3 separate regions of the Homo sapiens genome follow, and regions 2 and 3 are each linked to region 1. Evidence: promoter capture Hi-C in 16 types of primary human blood cells and fetal thymus (Javierre and others, 2016). All regions are on one chromosome and are shown on one strand. Each heading gives the region's core, a stretch centred on a gene start or on the middle of the fragment in contact. The rest is flanking DNA. Distances are from core to core; before and after follow the strand shown. Region 1 holds the start of SOWAHD (sosondowah ankyrin repeat domain family member D). Region 2 has its middle 24 kb from the start of SLC25A5-AS1. Region 3 holds the start of SLC25A43 (solute carrier family 25 member 43).

What was found. Contacts are between HindIII fragments. The CHiCAGO score rates a contact against its expected background, and 5 or more counts as called.
Region 2: a fragment that was not itself captured here is called in contact with the fragment with the promoter of SOWAHD in region 1 in 4 of 17 cell types (fetal thymus, total B cells, naive B cells and 1 more); the score reaches 9.9 in fetal thymus.
Region 3: a contact is called between the fragment with the promoter of SLC25A43 here and the fragment with the promoter of SOWAHD in region 1, in 3 of 17 cell types (fetal thymus, naive CD8 T cells and endothelial precursors). The highest score is 5.8, in fetal thymus.

The regions. Positions count from the first base shown.
Region 1 is chrX:119,756,682-119,761,331 of GRCh38, reverse strand. SOWAHD (sosondowah ankyrin repeat domain family member D) reads right to left here and starts at 2,744. Exons shown (of 1, transcript NM_001105576.3): 1 at 1,130-2,744. The coding sequence starts at 2,664. The coding sequence ends at 1,717. RefSeq lists enhancers at 734-803, 814-883 and silencers at 2,435-2,734, 2,845-2,994. The HindIII fragment of the contact is 2,232 bases long and covers 1,402-3,633 here.
Region 2 is chrX:119,491,308-119,495,783 of GRCh38, reverse strand. No RefSeq gene overlaps it. Among named protein-coding and RNA genes, the nearest start is that of SLC25A5-AS1, 24 kb to the right of the region's middle. The HindIII fragment of the contact is 595 bases long and covers 1,478-2,072 here.
Region 3 is chrX:119,398,019-119,402,433 of GRCh38, reverse strand. SLC25A43 (solute carrier family 25 member 43) reads right to left here and starts at 3,098. Exons shown (of 5, transcript NM_145305.3): 1 at 2,756-3,098. The coding sequence starts at 3,030. RefSeq lists a silencer at 2,575-3,234. The HindIII fragment of the contact is 2,295 bases long and covers 2,220-4,415 here.

The DNA.
Region 1 (4,650 bases), core at 1,495-3,994:
AACCTCCCAAAGTGCTGGGATTACAGCTGTGAGCCACCACACCCAGCCTTAAACTTAATTTTTTAAATGCTGCTGAGCAGGTGTGGTGGCTCGTGTCTGTAATCCCAGCACTTTGGGAGGCTGAGGCAGGGGAACACTTGAGGTTAGGAGTTCGAGACCAGCCTGACCAACATGGCGAAACCCCATCATTACTACAAATACAAAAATTAGCCAGGCGTGGTGGTGCACGTCTGTAATCCCAGCTACTTGGGAGGCTGAGGTAGGAGAATCGCTTGAACCCAGGAGGCAGAGGTTGCAGTGAGCCTAGATCACGCCATTGCACTCCAGCCTGGGCGACAGAGTGAGACTCTGTCTCAAAAAACAGTAATAATAAATAAATGCTGCTGGCTGGGCGTGGTGGCTCATGCCTGTAATCCCAGCACTTTGGGAGGCTGAGGCAGGCGGATCACTAGGTCAGGAGTTCGAGACCAGCCCAGCCAACATAGTGAAACCCCGTCTCTACTAAAAATACCAAAAAAAAAAAAAAAAAAAAAAAATCAGCCGGGCGTGGTGGCGGGTGCCTGTAGCTATTTGGGAGGCTGAGGCAGGAGAATTGCTTGAACCCGGGAGGCAGAGGTTGCGATGAGTCAAGATTGCGCCACTGCACTCCAGTCTGGGTGACAGAGTGAGACTCCATTTCAAAAATAAATAAATAAATGCTACTGAGGAAAGCCCCATCTTGGAAAAAAAAAAGTGCCCGTGGGTGTGTCTCATTAGAGGCCACAAATCAAGGTAAATTACATGACTGACCGTGGAAATATCAGAAATGTAAATTTGGAAACTTTTGCCTTTTACCCCCAACCCAAGGCCCCTATATGACAACTCTTCTAGGATGAGGCTGGTGCCTGAGGCCAGACCATCAAAGAGCTCAGGACAGAGGTGAACTGTATGTTTCTCCTCAGATCCAAGTGGAAGTAGCTTCTTCTGTGCACAGCTCTGGCCATTTGTTCTGAGAAGGAGGCCCAGAGCCTGCCCCGGGGGGCACAACATCACGGCCATGGTTGGGTGACCTCTACCCTGCAAACATATGCAGTTTCTTCCTTTGTGGTTAGTAAGGGAGGTGGGGGAAAACACTGAAAGGACAGCCTTGTCATGTGAAAAGAACACATATTCCACTTTAATATACATAAGAAGTAACCTGTGATACATGAGAAAAAGTACCAGTAAGGCTGGGTCGTCTCAGGAGGAGGTTGTCAGAGGCTGACTCTACCCGCACCCCAAGACCCATTAATGGCCGAGCGAGGCCGGCAGAGTTAGGCGTTTTCTCTGCATTGGTGGTTTACAATCTTAACTCATTCTTCTAGCGAATGTTTCCTAATAAACCCAGCGCGTCGGCCTGCCCAGAAATGGCCCCTGGAAGCTTAACTTGCCCTCTCCCAAGCAGGACCACGCTCCCTGCTCCCAACTCCTTAGTCCTGTAGCTTTGGAACTCGGAGCCAGGCCAGCTTGGTCCTTCACTCTCTCTTGGTGAGGTGGTGCCCGAGTCCCCGGGTCCTCCAGGCCGGTGGTTACAGGAGACCTGAGACAAGTACCTGAGTCGGACCCCGACGTGTTCTGTTCCTTGCAGGCCCAAGCAGCGTCCAAGGCGCCTCTCCTTCGGTGGAACCCGGGACAACCCAGGACCTAGCCATCGCCACAGTGTCACAGCCCCTCCTAGCTCTCCAGTCTCTGTCCCTGTCAACGGTCCTGGAATGAGGGGAACAGATGGCGGAAAAGGCTATGCATTTGCGCCACCCGGCTGCCCGCGGTGTCCTTCGCCTTGGTCCGCGACGCTGCCACTCTCCTGCTTGTCTCCACAGCCGTCGCGCCCACTGCGCTCGCGGCCCTCCACGCAGTGGTGCCACTGCTGTTGTTGTTCAGGTTGGTGCACCCGCTGCCGCTCTCCATCTCCCATTCCTCGGCTCCCGACAGCTCCCGCAACCTCCAAGGCGCGTCGGGCCGCAGGTAGTGGCAGGCCCGGTGGCCGCTGTGGTCGCGGCGCGTAGCGTCAGCACCCAGGGCGCCCACCAGCACCTTGATGACCATGTCGTGGCCCTGAAGGGCCGCCAGGTGGAGGGGCGTGAGGCCGCCGCTGCCTGGGGCGCTCACGTCGAGCCTCAGCCCCCGGCGTAGGGCGAAATCGTGTACCAGAATGAGCTCCTCGTGGCGCCCGTGCTTGGCCAGCCAGTGCAGAACCGAGTAGCCGGTGATCGGGTCGCCCCGCAGCAGCAGCTCCGGCTCAGCCTCCAGCAGCTCCCGCAGCACCTCATAGCGGCCCTCGGCGGCTGCCAGAATCCACGCGTGCTCCCGCGGTTCCAGGCACAGCCTGCTGCTGCCCGGCCCACTCGGCCCGCCCAGCTCCTCGGCGCGCTCCTCCGACAGCCACCCCGCAGGAGCCGCCCGCTGCAGCCCCAGCAGTTCCCGCAGCGCTCCCCGCCGGCGCCCTGAGCCCGCTGCAGAGTGCATCAGCGTGCCTGGGAAGGGGTGCTCCCGGGAGGCGGCGGCTGCGGCTTTGCCCCAGTACCTGCCCAGGCTACCAGTGTCCGCTCTCGAGGGGCGGGGCTGCGGGGCGCACCGCAGGCTCTGCGAGGTCGGCGCGAGAGAGGCCGTGGGTGCCCGGTTCGCGGCCCCTCCGAGCTGGGCCATGGTCTTGAAGCTGCCGCCGCGGCCGTCCCAGTGTCCAGCGTTAGCTGCCCTTCCCGGGCCCCAACGGGAGAGGAACTGGCGCTGGCGTTGGGGAAGGAAGCTGCTTGAGCAATTGGGTTCGGAGGGAGGGAGCAAAGGAGAGGAGGAGGAGGAGGAGGAGGAGGAGGGAGGGAGCTAGGGGAGGGCCCCCGCGCAGGCCTTGGGGGGCGTGGAGGGGTGTGAGCTCCAGCCAAGTCCCCAGGGCAAGCCCAGCTCCACTTCCCTGGGTACCGCCGCCTCTGCAGCTCCCCCGGGTCGCGGGCGGTCCCACCCCAAACGGCCAGGTGAGCTCGGCAGCCCCGCCTCCAGCACCGAAGGGCGGGCGCGGGGACTGGCTGGGAGCTCGCCTGCGGCCCTGGAAGCCGCGGTTCTCAGCATCCCAGCCGGGGCTAGAGTGTAGAGGCGCGAGGGCGCCCCTTCCGCAGCGGGCCGAGCTCGGCTTCCAGCCACGGTCTCCCAAAGCGCGGTCCTGGAGCTCCGAGGCTCTGGCTCCCCGCCCCCTTCCTTCGCCCTTCCCTCTTATCTCTTCAGGAGTCTCCCTGCACTTTGTCCCGGAGTTGCCATTGTCCCGCGCCTAGCATTCACGCAGGCAGCTCGACTGCCCCATGTGACTGGCTCGTCTGCCTGCCTTGCCCTTTGTGTGGCCTTGACCCTCGCCGCAGCACCCGGGGCTGCCCAGGATTCCAGCAGAGAAGCCCAAGACCAGGGTCCAGGCTGACGCTCTTCCAGGGAACTCAGGAGGGATATTCCCCTTCTGCACCGCCCTCTCTGTCCTGCTCTCCACCCTCTTCCCTCCCGTCAATTTTCCCAGGTTGGCTTGGAGAAGCAGCTACAGGTGAATCTGAGCCGGCGCCGCAGGAGCGCCCTGTTCTCTTTAGAGATGCATCCCTGCTCTCTCCCCAGGGCCCCGCTTTCTACAAATTCAAAGCTTAGGGGCTTTTTAAAAAAGGATATTTTTTCTTTTTCACTCCTAATACCAGCGTACTCTTTGCTCTTCCCTTCCCTTAGTAAATAGTGGTTCTTGCCTCCACACCCCCAGCATCTTAAGGAGCTCAGTCAGTGAGCAACGGGGAGCCATAGAAGATTGTTGAGCCGGGGAGAGACACAGCCATGATGGAGGTTGTGTTAAAAAGGTGATTTGGGAGGTGCAGAGGCAGGAAGTCGGAAGACTGTTCCAGCAGTCTAGGCCAAGGGGGATGGAGGCTCAGGCCAAATCAGCCCACTCCCTCGGGGCCACCTGTGGCAGCAGTGATAGAAGGTATCGGAAGCTTTTCTTCCTTGGCCCTCACGTATTTGGAACAAGTCCTAAATATCTAGAGCTTTCCTTCAGAACAGTTTATGCATTTGTAATTTGGTTTTGAACATTTACTATGTGCCAGGCACTGTGCTTGTTGCGTTATATATGTTAACTCTTTTAATCCTCCCAGTGACCTCAAGTGCTGGGAATCATTACTGTCCCCAGTTTGCAGAGAGGTTAGGCTACTTGCTCAAGGTCACCCAGCAGGAAGTGGCAGAGCAGGTCTGTGCGACACCATAGCCTTTGTTCTGGTACACAGGAACTGGCATTCAAGCCTGGCTTATCAACTGCAAATCACATACAAGCCCCAAATTCCAGCCAAAAGGATAGACTTGTAACGTGAGCGTATCTATAACTTACACTCCTCTGCCTGGAAGAGCTTCTATGTAGTGAAGTTCTTTTCTTTCAAGGTTGCGCTTAGTTTCCACCTCTAGCAAGCCTCCTCTGATTATCCCAGCCCAAAGTGATCCCTCTCTTTCCCCAGCCCTGTGTTTCTGCTACTTCTTTGGCCCCAAGACTGCCTTGTGTTACATCTCTCTCCCCTTGCTCTCATATGCCAATTAAACTATAAACTCTTGGACAGCTATGTCATACTATCCTTGTGCACCTAGTAGTTATCCAAGAAATATTTGTTACCTTGTTCTGGTTTG
Region 2 (4,476 bases), core at 526-3,025, 260 kb after region 1:
CAAGAACAGCATCAGGAAAAAGTCAATGTAGTAAGAACTTTAGATGACACAATCTTGCCTCTATACAGGAATTTTAGCCTAGATACAGGCTATTTTTTAGTTTTTCCTTTCTGTGTAAGAAATGCACCATACAACACAACATTTAGCTTTTTCCCAATAGGAAAAAAAATGCACCAAAGGGCCCAAGATCGGTAAGTGAAAACCTTGAAACTTACAGCCAGGGAATAGAGGGACATGCATCGAACACGGGAACCACTGACATGGACGTTTTTCTTTTTGTTTAAAAAGCATGTATAGGCGGGGTGCAGTGGCTCACGCCTGTAATCCCAGCAATTTAGGGGGCCAAGACAGGTAGATCACCTGAGGTCAGGAGTTTGAGGTCAGCTTGGCCAACATGGTGAAACCCTGTGCCTACTAAAAATGCAAAAATTAGCTGGGCATGGTGGTGGGCACCTGTAGTCCCAGCTACTTGGGGGGTGAGGCAGGAGAATTGCTTGAACCCAGGAGGTAGAGGTTGCAGTGAGCCGAGATCGCGCCATTGCACTCCACCCTGGGCCACAGAGTGAGACTCCGTCTCAAAAATAAAATAAAATAAAAACAATAAATAAATAAATAGCATGTATATTGCACTTACCACATGCCCAGGCACCGTTCTAAATGCATTGCAATCTGTTAACTCACTGAATCCTCATAACAAGTCTTTTAAAGTAGGTACAGTTATCCCCATTTTACGGTGGAAGAAATGGAAGCAGACAGAGGTTAAATAACTTGTCCAAAGTTGTAACCACCCAGTGGGTTCACCTTGCTCACTGCCTAGATAGAGACGATTTATCAAGACAGGGGAATTGCAATGGAGAGTTCGGCCTATGCCCAGGAATGAACAAGGACAGCTTAAAGGTTAGAAGCAAGATGGAATCGGTTAGGTCTGTTTTCTTTCACTATCATAACTTCCTCAGTTATAATTTTGCAAAGGTGGTTTCAAAGTCACACAGGCGATAAATGGCAGAGTCAGGATTCCAGCCCAGGCAGCCTCTGTTTGCTTCGGCACTCTGCCCTGCTGCCTCCTTGAGTTTACAAGCCTCGTGATCATAGAACAGGACAGGGAGTGGCCCTCTTACTCCTCCCTTTTTCTTTCTTCCTTAGGTTCTTTTATATGGATCAAGTGCAGGAGTCCAGCCTGTCCCCTAGCCACATCAGGGAGAAAAAAAATGTGTGTGTGTGTGTGTGTGTGAGAGAGAGAGAGAGAGAGAGAATATGAGAGAATATGAAGGTGGCACTGCTGTCTGGATGCTTCTGGAAAACCCAGCTCTGTCAAGGACTGAGGAATACTGCAGTGGAAACTCCTGCATTTTATTTCCTGAGCCAGAATTCTGAGATGAGTATGCTTAGAGACTCCCCTAAGATGAGCAGCATCAAAGTCTCTTTAACCCTTGCCTCAGGGAACAGTCACCTAACAAAGAGGAGCTGGGGCTAAGCTTCTGTTTTACACTGAACAGAGCAGGGAAGAAAATTCATGCATCAGGGTGCTCTTTAGAGTTCTATTGTGAAGGAGAATAACTTGTTTATATTAGGCAAGGCCCCAGTAGCTTCTTTGTAAATTTCAGTCTGGAGAAAATAAAGCCAGAGCTGCAAGTCCAAACAGGTAAAAAAAAAAAAAAAAAAATTTTTTTTTTTTTTTTGAGACGGAGTCTCACACTCTTGCCTGGGCTGGAGTGCAATGGCGCAATCTCAGCTCACTGTAACCTCTGCCTCCCAGCTTCAAGCGATTCTCCTTGCCTCAGCCTCTCAAGTAGCTGGGATTACAGGCACCCGCCACAACGCCCAGCTAATTTTTTTTGTAATTTTAGTAGAGACGAGGTTTCACCATGTTGGCCAGGCTAGTCTCGAACTCCTGACCTCGTGATCCGCCTGCCTCGGCCTCCCAAAGTGCTGGGATTAGAGGCATGAGCCACCGCGCTTGGCCCCAGGTAAAATTTTGATAAGCTCATGAAAATTTCAACTAGAGAGTTCAGGCACCCATGGCTGGGATGAGGGCAACAAATCTGGAGCAACAAACATGCAACCAACAAGCTTTTTTTGACAGCATACTTTTGTTTGGCACTCCTCTACGCACTGGGATACAAATATGAGTAAGAATGCTACCACCTAAAATAATAGATGCCTGGATAGGCATAGCTTATCTCTGGAAGGTAACACCAGAATGTGGTCATGGAGATTACCTGTGGGTGGCGAGGGAACAGGGGTGGGAGGGAAACTAACTTGTTACTGTAAACCCTTTATACCTTGTCAATTTGGTATCCGAGGATATATTACCAATATATTACCCATTCAAAAGATAAATGTGGTATCAGGGAGACACAAATACGTAAATGTGTAAATAGAGAAGTAAATAGCAGCATCAGCTCACAAAAGCATGTTCACAGTGCTAGAGTTATTGACAACAATGGAGGAACCATGATATAAAGACTGAATTTACTAGCCCAGGCATGATGGCTCACGCCTGTAATCCCAGCACTTTGGAGGCCCAGGCCGGCAGATCGCCTGAGGTCAGGAGTTCGAGACCAGCCTGGCCAACATGGAGAAACCCTGTCTCTACTAAAAATACAAAAATTAGCCGGCCGTGGTAGCTCATGCCTGTAATTCCAGCTACTTGAGGGGCTGAGGTGGGAGGATCACTTGAGCCTGGGCTATCGAGGCTGCAGTGAGTTGAGATTGTGCCACTGCACTCCAGCCTGGGAGACAGGAGTGAGACCCTGTCAAAAAAAAAAAAAGACCAAATTTACCAATTTGGTTTCCTGGCTTAGGACAGAATTGAGGCTTCAGCCATGATAGTGACGTCTAAGAAGTCCCTCTACCTCTAGCCAGAGGTCCTGGCTAGAAGAAAAAAAAAAAAGTATGTTTTCTTGTCTTTTTCCAAACACATCACAAGAGCAATATATAACCTGACAAGAATGCAGGGGCAGGTAAGACCTGCCTAAGGCTGAAGGAGTTTTGTCCTTCCATAGGCATTGGCCTCCTCCTCCCCTCACAGACAAAGGTGACTGTGTCAGTAACAACTATTTACCTTGCAAGCACATACCTGTGCCTAGCCAGACCTACTCCCTTGCATAGAGAAGTGATTCCTGACAGACTCTGCATCCAACTGGTCTTGGGGCAATGCCACCTGCTCACTCTAGCCTAAACCTGCTGAGGAGCTAGCACAATCCTGAGAAAAAGGGTCAAGAAATCACGTTCTGGCCGTTGAGTGGTGGCTCACTCCTGTAATCCCAACACTTTGGGAAACTGAGGCAGGAGGATCACTTGAGGCCAGGAGTTCAACACCGCAGTGAGCTCTGATCACACCACTGCACTCTAGCCTGGGCAACAGTGAGACCCTGTTTCAAAAAAAAAAAAAAAAAGAATAAGAAGTGGATAACTCGATTATCCACAGGTGGATTGTTTTTTTCTGGATTATAGGCTGACAATTTATTATTATTATGTATGTATTTATTTATTTATTGCGAGACAGAGTCTCACTCTGTCACCCAGGCACGATCTTGGCTCACGGCAACCTTTGCCTCCCGGGTTCAAACAATTCTTCTGCCTCAGCCTCCCAAGTAGCTGGGACTACAGGCACCTGCCACAACATTTGGCTAATTTGTGTATTTTTTAGTAGAGACAGGGTTTTGCCATGTTGGCCAGGCTAGTCTCAAACTGCTGACCTCAACTGATCCACCTGCCTCTGCCTCCCAAAGTGGTACGATTACAGATGAGAGCTACCGTGCCGGGCCTATGCTGACAGTTTTTAATCCTGGCCTGATTTTCCCTCATATACCCCTCCCCCAGGCTACCTTTAGACTTCCTTTATCCAAAGCCCAGTGGGTCTACTAGGGAAATAATGTCATGATAACTATGACTGCCACCCTTTATTGAATGCTTCCAGGGGCCAGACATCAGGCTGTGTTATATGTATTAGTCTTCATGCAATCCTCACAGATACCCAATGAGAAAGGTATTCTGGCTATATCTGTGTTTTGCAGATGAAGAAACTCAGGGAGATAAACAGCTAGCAAATGGTGGTGATTGGACTGAAAACCAGACTGTGTGGCTGAGCGCCCATACCACTGGTCTATAAAGGCTCTTAACCACTCTCCTATTCTGCATCCCATAAAGTTAATTTTAATTAGCCCAATCCAGCTCTATTTAGGAAGAGAAATATGCTGCCAAAAATCACTTACAATATCCAAAAGCTAAATATAAAAGGCTTTTCTATTATCACTTGTTTGGGGCTATTTAGGCCAAGGCTTCCTTCCAAGGGCCTGTGTAACCAAGGGTTATATGGAAGCTTAGCATCTGGGCAAACAGGAAATGAGCCCAGCTCTGCTGGCTCTGTCAGCGCCCTAAAAAGATCTACTCACGGGGGAAGTTAAACTTATAGAACCAGGATGGGCCAGGTGCGGTGGCACACACCTGTAATCCCAACACTTTGGGAAGCTG
Region 3 (4,415 bases), core at 1,849-4,348, 360 kb after region 1:
GGGTCTTCTATTTGATACATCTGAAAGCCACCCATTACAATAACCTAGCTCCCAACAGACTACTGAGTGGACTCTTGATCGTCAATCCAACTAAGCAGATATTTCTGCTGTGCAATGGTAGACAGAGACCTGAACTAAGGAGCCAGAAGACTTGGCTTCAAGTTCCAGCTCTTCCATTAATTGCATTTGTGGACAAGTCACTTAACTACCCCATTCCCTGAACATTCTGGATGTTTATGTTTTGTTCAAACCCATGATCACAGGCCCCCAGCCAACTGTTTTGCAAATTCATGGTCAGAAAAGAGTAGAAATGAATCAGTATAATGATGAATCAAGAGTATCATGTTGATGTAGGAAGGATGGCATCGCGATTAATCAAACACTTTGCTTTCCAACTATGCCTTGCCATTCACCAAAATACTTCCTTTTAGTTTTCAGAAAGAAAATAATCCTGTAGGGGAAAAAAAATTCCTAGCAAACCTAGCCCAGGTAAGTCTCTGTTCTCGTTCTCCCAGACATCTCCTCCTCTCTGCTCCCATGGTCACCTATTGCCGGTGCCCTCAGCTGCTATGTGGACTAGTGCAACAGGTTCCTAACTGGCCCTGCTGTCTCCACTCTTCCTCCTCTCTAGTCATCTTACTCTGCCACGATGTGACGATCATTTCCATTGAATTGCTTTAATCACAACACACCTCCCCCCACCCCCCACAAAAACCTCCCACAGCTACCCTTGGATACCAAGTCAAGTCCAAATCCCTTAATCCAACCCTCTAATATCTCATTCCAACCTGCTTTTCTGGTTGGACTTCCTGTTGTGCTGCTTGCCTTCCCACCTCTGTGCATTTGCTGACATCAACTGCAGTATCTTTCTCTCCATCTCTGCCCAGCAGACTCCTCATTCTCCCAATGCCAAACTCAAATTTTTTTCTCCTCTATGAAGTCTTCACATTTTCTCCTCCTCATCGCTCATCAGAAGGGTACATTTCTAGAGCACATTATCCATGACAATCACATGCTACCTTGTGTGTTATGGTCATGGACATATTAGTCTTACTCTTCTATTACTCTGTAAGCTCCTGGGGCACAGGGACCATGCCCCTTCCATCCTGGCATTGTCCTCAGCATCGTGCACACAGTGGGGACTTAATGTAGCCTGACTAAATTAGTGTCAAATGGATGCAGGGAGGCAGCATGATGTAACAGAAAGACTATGAGATTTGGAGTCAGAAGGCCAGGTAGTGGAGCTCAGCTCGGTCACTGACAAGAGGTGTCATCACTCTGAGCCCAATTCTGCATCTGTAAAACAGGCACAATGCTTCCTGTCCTATGGACCTTACAGGGCAGGAGGCAGGAGCTTAAAAAATCTAATGTGCATATACTAGGTGCTTAGCAGAAGAGCCACAATACTTAAACCAGCCTTTGAAGTTCTGCCCCCCACCCCTCTGGACATATTTTATCCCATCCAAAGGAAGATTTCCACACTACTTTGTAGAGAAGAGGGTGAAGTGGGGGAGAAACTGAGTCATTAAGACTCAGAGGAGAACTGTTTACAGACTGCAGGCCAGATGTTGATGAGGGCAAGCAGAGGTGGGGAGGAAAAAGGGCCTTAACTAAATGTCATGGTCCCACCCATGAGTCCCTCTGCAGAGGAAGAGAAGGGAACTCTATTTCCAGGCAGAGGCAAAATGAGTACTGGCCTAGAGGCCTAGGTAATAAGGATGATTCCGTTCGGCTTGTCGGCTGCCAGGTGAGCCTTCCACCTCTGGCCTCCCAGGTGAGTGACAGTGTCAAGGCAAAATCCTTTGACTATTAGCCGCCAAGACTAAACTATGCGGTCAAGACCGACTCTCCCAAATGTGGGCTGTTTGTCTAATTCAGAGCCAAGGCGATATCAAAGATGCCACTGTGCCCACTGAATGAGGAACACAGGGACCGTCCCCCCAATACAGAAACATCTCTGCTTCCTGAAATGCCATCACTACCAATTCATTCTTTCAGGCTTGGTTTCCAGTTCAAATGCAGGTACCTCTGAGCTCGGTGGAAGCTTTAAGGCTGCATTTACACCTTTAGATCTTTTCCTAAGGAGCAGCTGTTGATGTGGGAGAAGGTGGAAAAGGCCCAAATAAATGAGGCCAGTGGGGTGAAGCGGTAGGCTGAGGGGGCCGTTCTCAGCTTGGGGAGGGGAAGCTGCAGCCTCTGTCGGAGCCTGAAGTCAAGCTTCATTTAAGTTGGGGAGATGTGTGGGCAAAAATCTGCGGCCTTTTCGTATCGATGGATCGGGTCCTTTCCCCACACCAAGCACTTTCTTCTCGGGGCTTGGGTCACACAGACAAAAACACCTTTAAAAGGGTCTCTCTCTTCCTAAGCCAGCCTAAGCAAAAGTTTCCAAATTGGAGGACGGTGGAAATGGTTAGGACTCATCTCTCTGGAGAGCTTTTCATTCCTTTCCTCCAAATCCTTTGCTGCATTCCACCTCCTCGCCCGGTCCAATCCGGAAAGCCTCTCGGACCAGGGCTGCGGACCACAAAACTGCATCTTGCAGGGCGGTAACCCCAAGAGAACGTGAAAAGCATTGGGGCTGCACTCTGGGGGCCATAGAGGTGGCCCACCGCCCCGAGGGGTCCCCAGGTGATCGACAAGGGGGCCGTCCCTACTCCAGGGCCCCGAGTCCAGGCAGCAGGGCGGCGTCGGGCCGCGGCTCCCCCACCCCACCCCCGTCCGGTCTCCCGGTTCCCCGGCCCCGCCCGGCTCTTACTTGCGGTAGGCGGCGAGCTGCACGGCGCTGCAGGGGAAGAGGCGCAGGCACGCCACCGCGTTCCCCTTCCACAGGGCCCGGAGCCCCTCTGCCCGCCACACCCGGTGCCCTGTGGCCCACGGTCCCCGGGCGTGGCCTCGCACGACGCCAACCTGGGCCAGCACGGTGGCGAGCTCCAGGGGCGCGGTGAGGCTGAGGCTGAGCGTCCCCGCCAGCCCAGCGCACAGCAGCCTTTGGCCGCCTGTCAGTCGGCCGTCCCGCCTCCACGTAGCCATCGAGCCCCGACCCGGGCCCGGAAGACCGCGTGGCTCGGGCCTGGGGCTCTCCGGCCACGGGCGGAGGTGGCGGGCCCCAGGCCCCGCCCGGCATGGGGCGGGCCCGCGTGAGGGACGGGAAGCCCCGTCTACGCCCTAGCCTGGCCCGAGGCTGGTCGGGGGTGGGGCGCGAGGGCCTGGAGGGTCCGGGGTCCGAGGCCGCGGATATCATGGGCATAGTCTCCCCAGTTGGCAAGGCTCGAGTAGCGACTTTCAGTTGCGAAACAGTTACTGTTCTCTCAAGGCCCAGCCTGCTAGACATCTTGCTTCCTAAATGTTCAGTGCGCCCCCGCCGCCCCTCCCTGCCTCTCCTCTGGTTTGCCCCTTTTCTCCCTTTCACGTGCCACTTCTCTGTCTTCCTCCCCTGGCGCTTCCCTCCTCCTCCTCTTGCCTCCAACCCATTTTTTTTTCCTGCCTAACCAAAAAGCCTTGATGGTTTCCCAGTGCAGAAGGTAAAAAATTCTAACAACCACAGTTGCTATCTCTCAGGCACTTGTCAAGTACTGGGCTTTACAGACGTTCTCATGTAATCCTCAAAACGGCCCTAAGTACGTATGTCCTCATTGACAGAGGCTGTGTGGGTGTGGGGACTTGAATCTGGACTCTTGAACCTGTGTAAGATTCTTGGCTCTGCAGCTTACCAGCTGTGGGACCTTGGGGAAGTCACTCAACCTCTCTGTGTGTCAGTTGCTTTATAAAACAGAGATTATAATTTTTTCCTCCTAGGGGTTGTTGTAAGGATTAATGAACAATGACTGGTATGGGTAAGCAGTTTATATGTGTTAGTTCTGATTAGGTATTCATTTACAGGAGAGGAAACCAAGACACAGAGAGGACTTGCTCAGGCTCACACAGCTACCTACAAAGCAGAGACCGGTTTGAAATCTAGGGCGGTTTATGTCAGTTTCCACTAACGGCTACACTATATGTCTACTAGGACTGCAGAGTTAACTCCAGTAGGGACATTTTCAGTGGTTCTGTAAGCTAAGAGAACAATAGAGGCAAAGAATGGCTAAGAGAGGCTTGGCCAGAATCCGAGGATTCTTTAATCAGTTCAAAAATTTCAGAATTTCAGAATTTCTTTCTGTCTCTTTTTTTTCTAAAAAAGCCATGTCACTAATAATTACAAGGAAAGGAACTGTCAGCAGTCTGTTGGTGTGAGCAAGATGTTCCGGGTACATAGTTGTTTTTAGGCTTGTATAGTTATTTACATTTACTAACACACAATGCTATAGGAACGTTTTCTAAAAGGCATTGCAGGGTTTCTCCTTTTTTATTTTTCACTGTCAATCTCACTTGAGTATGACATTACAAGGTTTTGACTGTGAGAACTTGTTCTAGTTGCA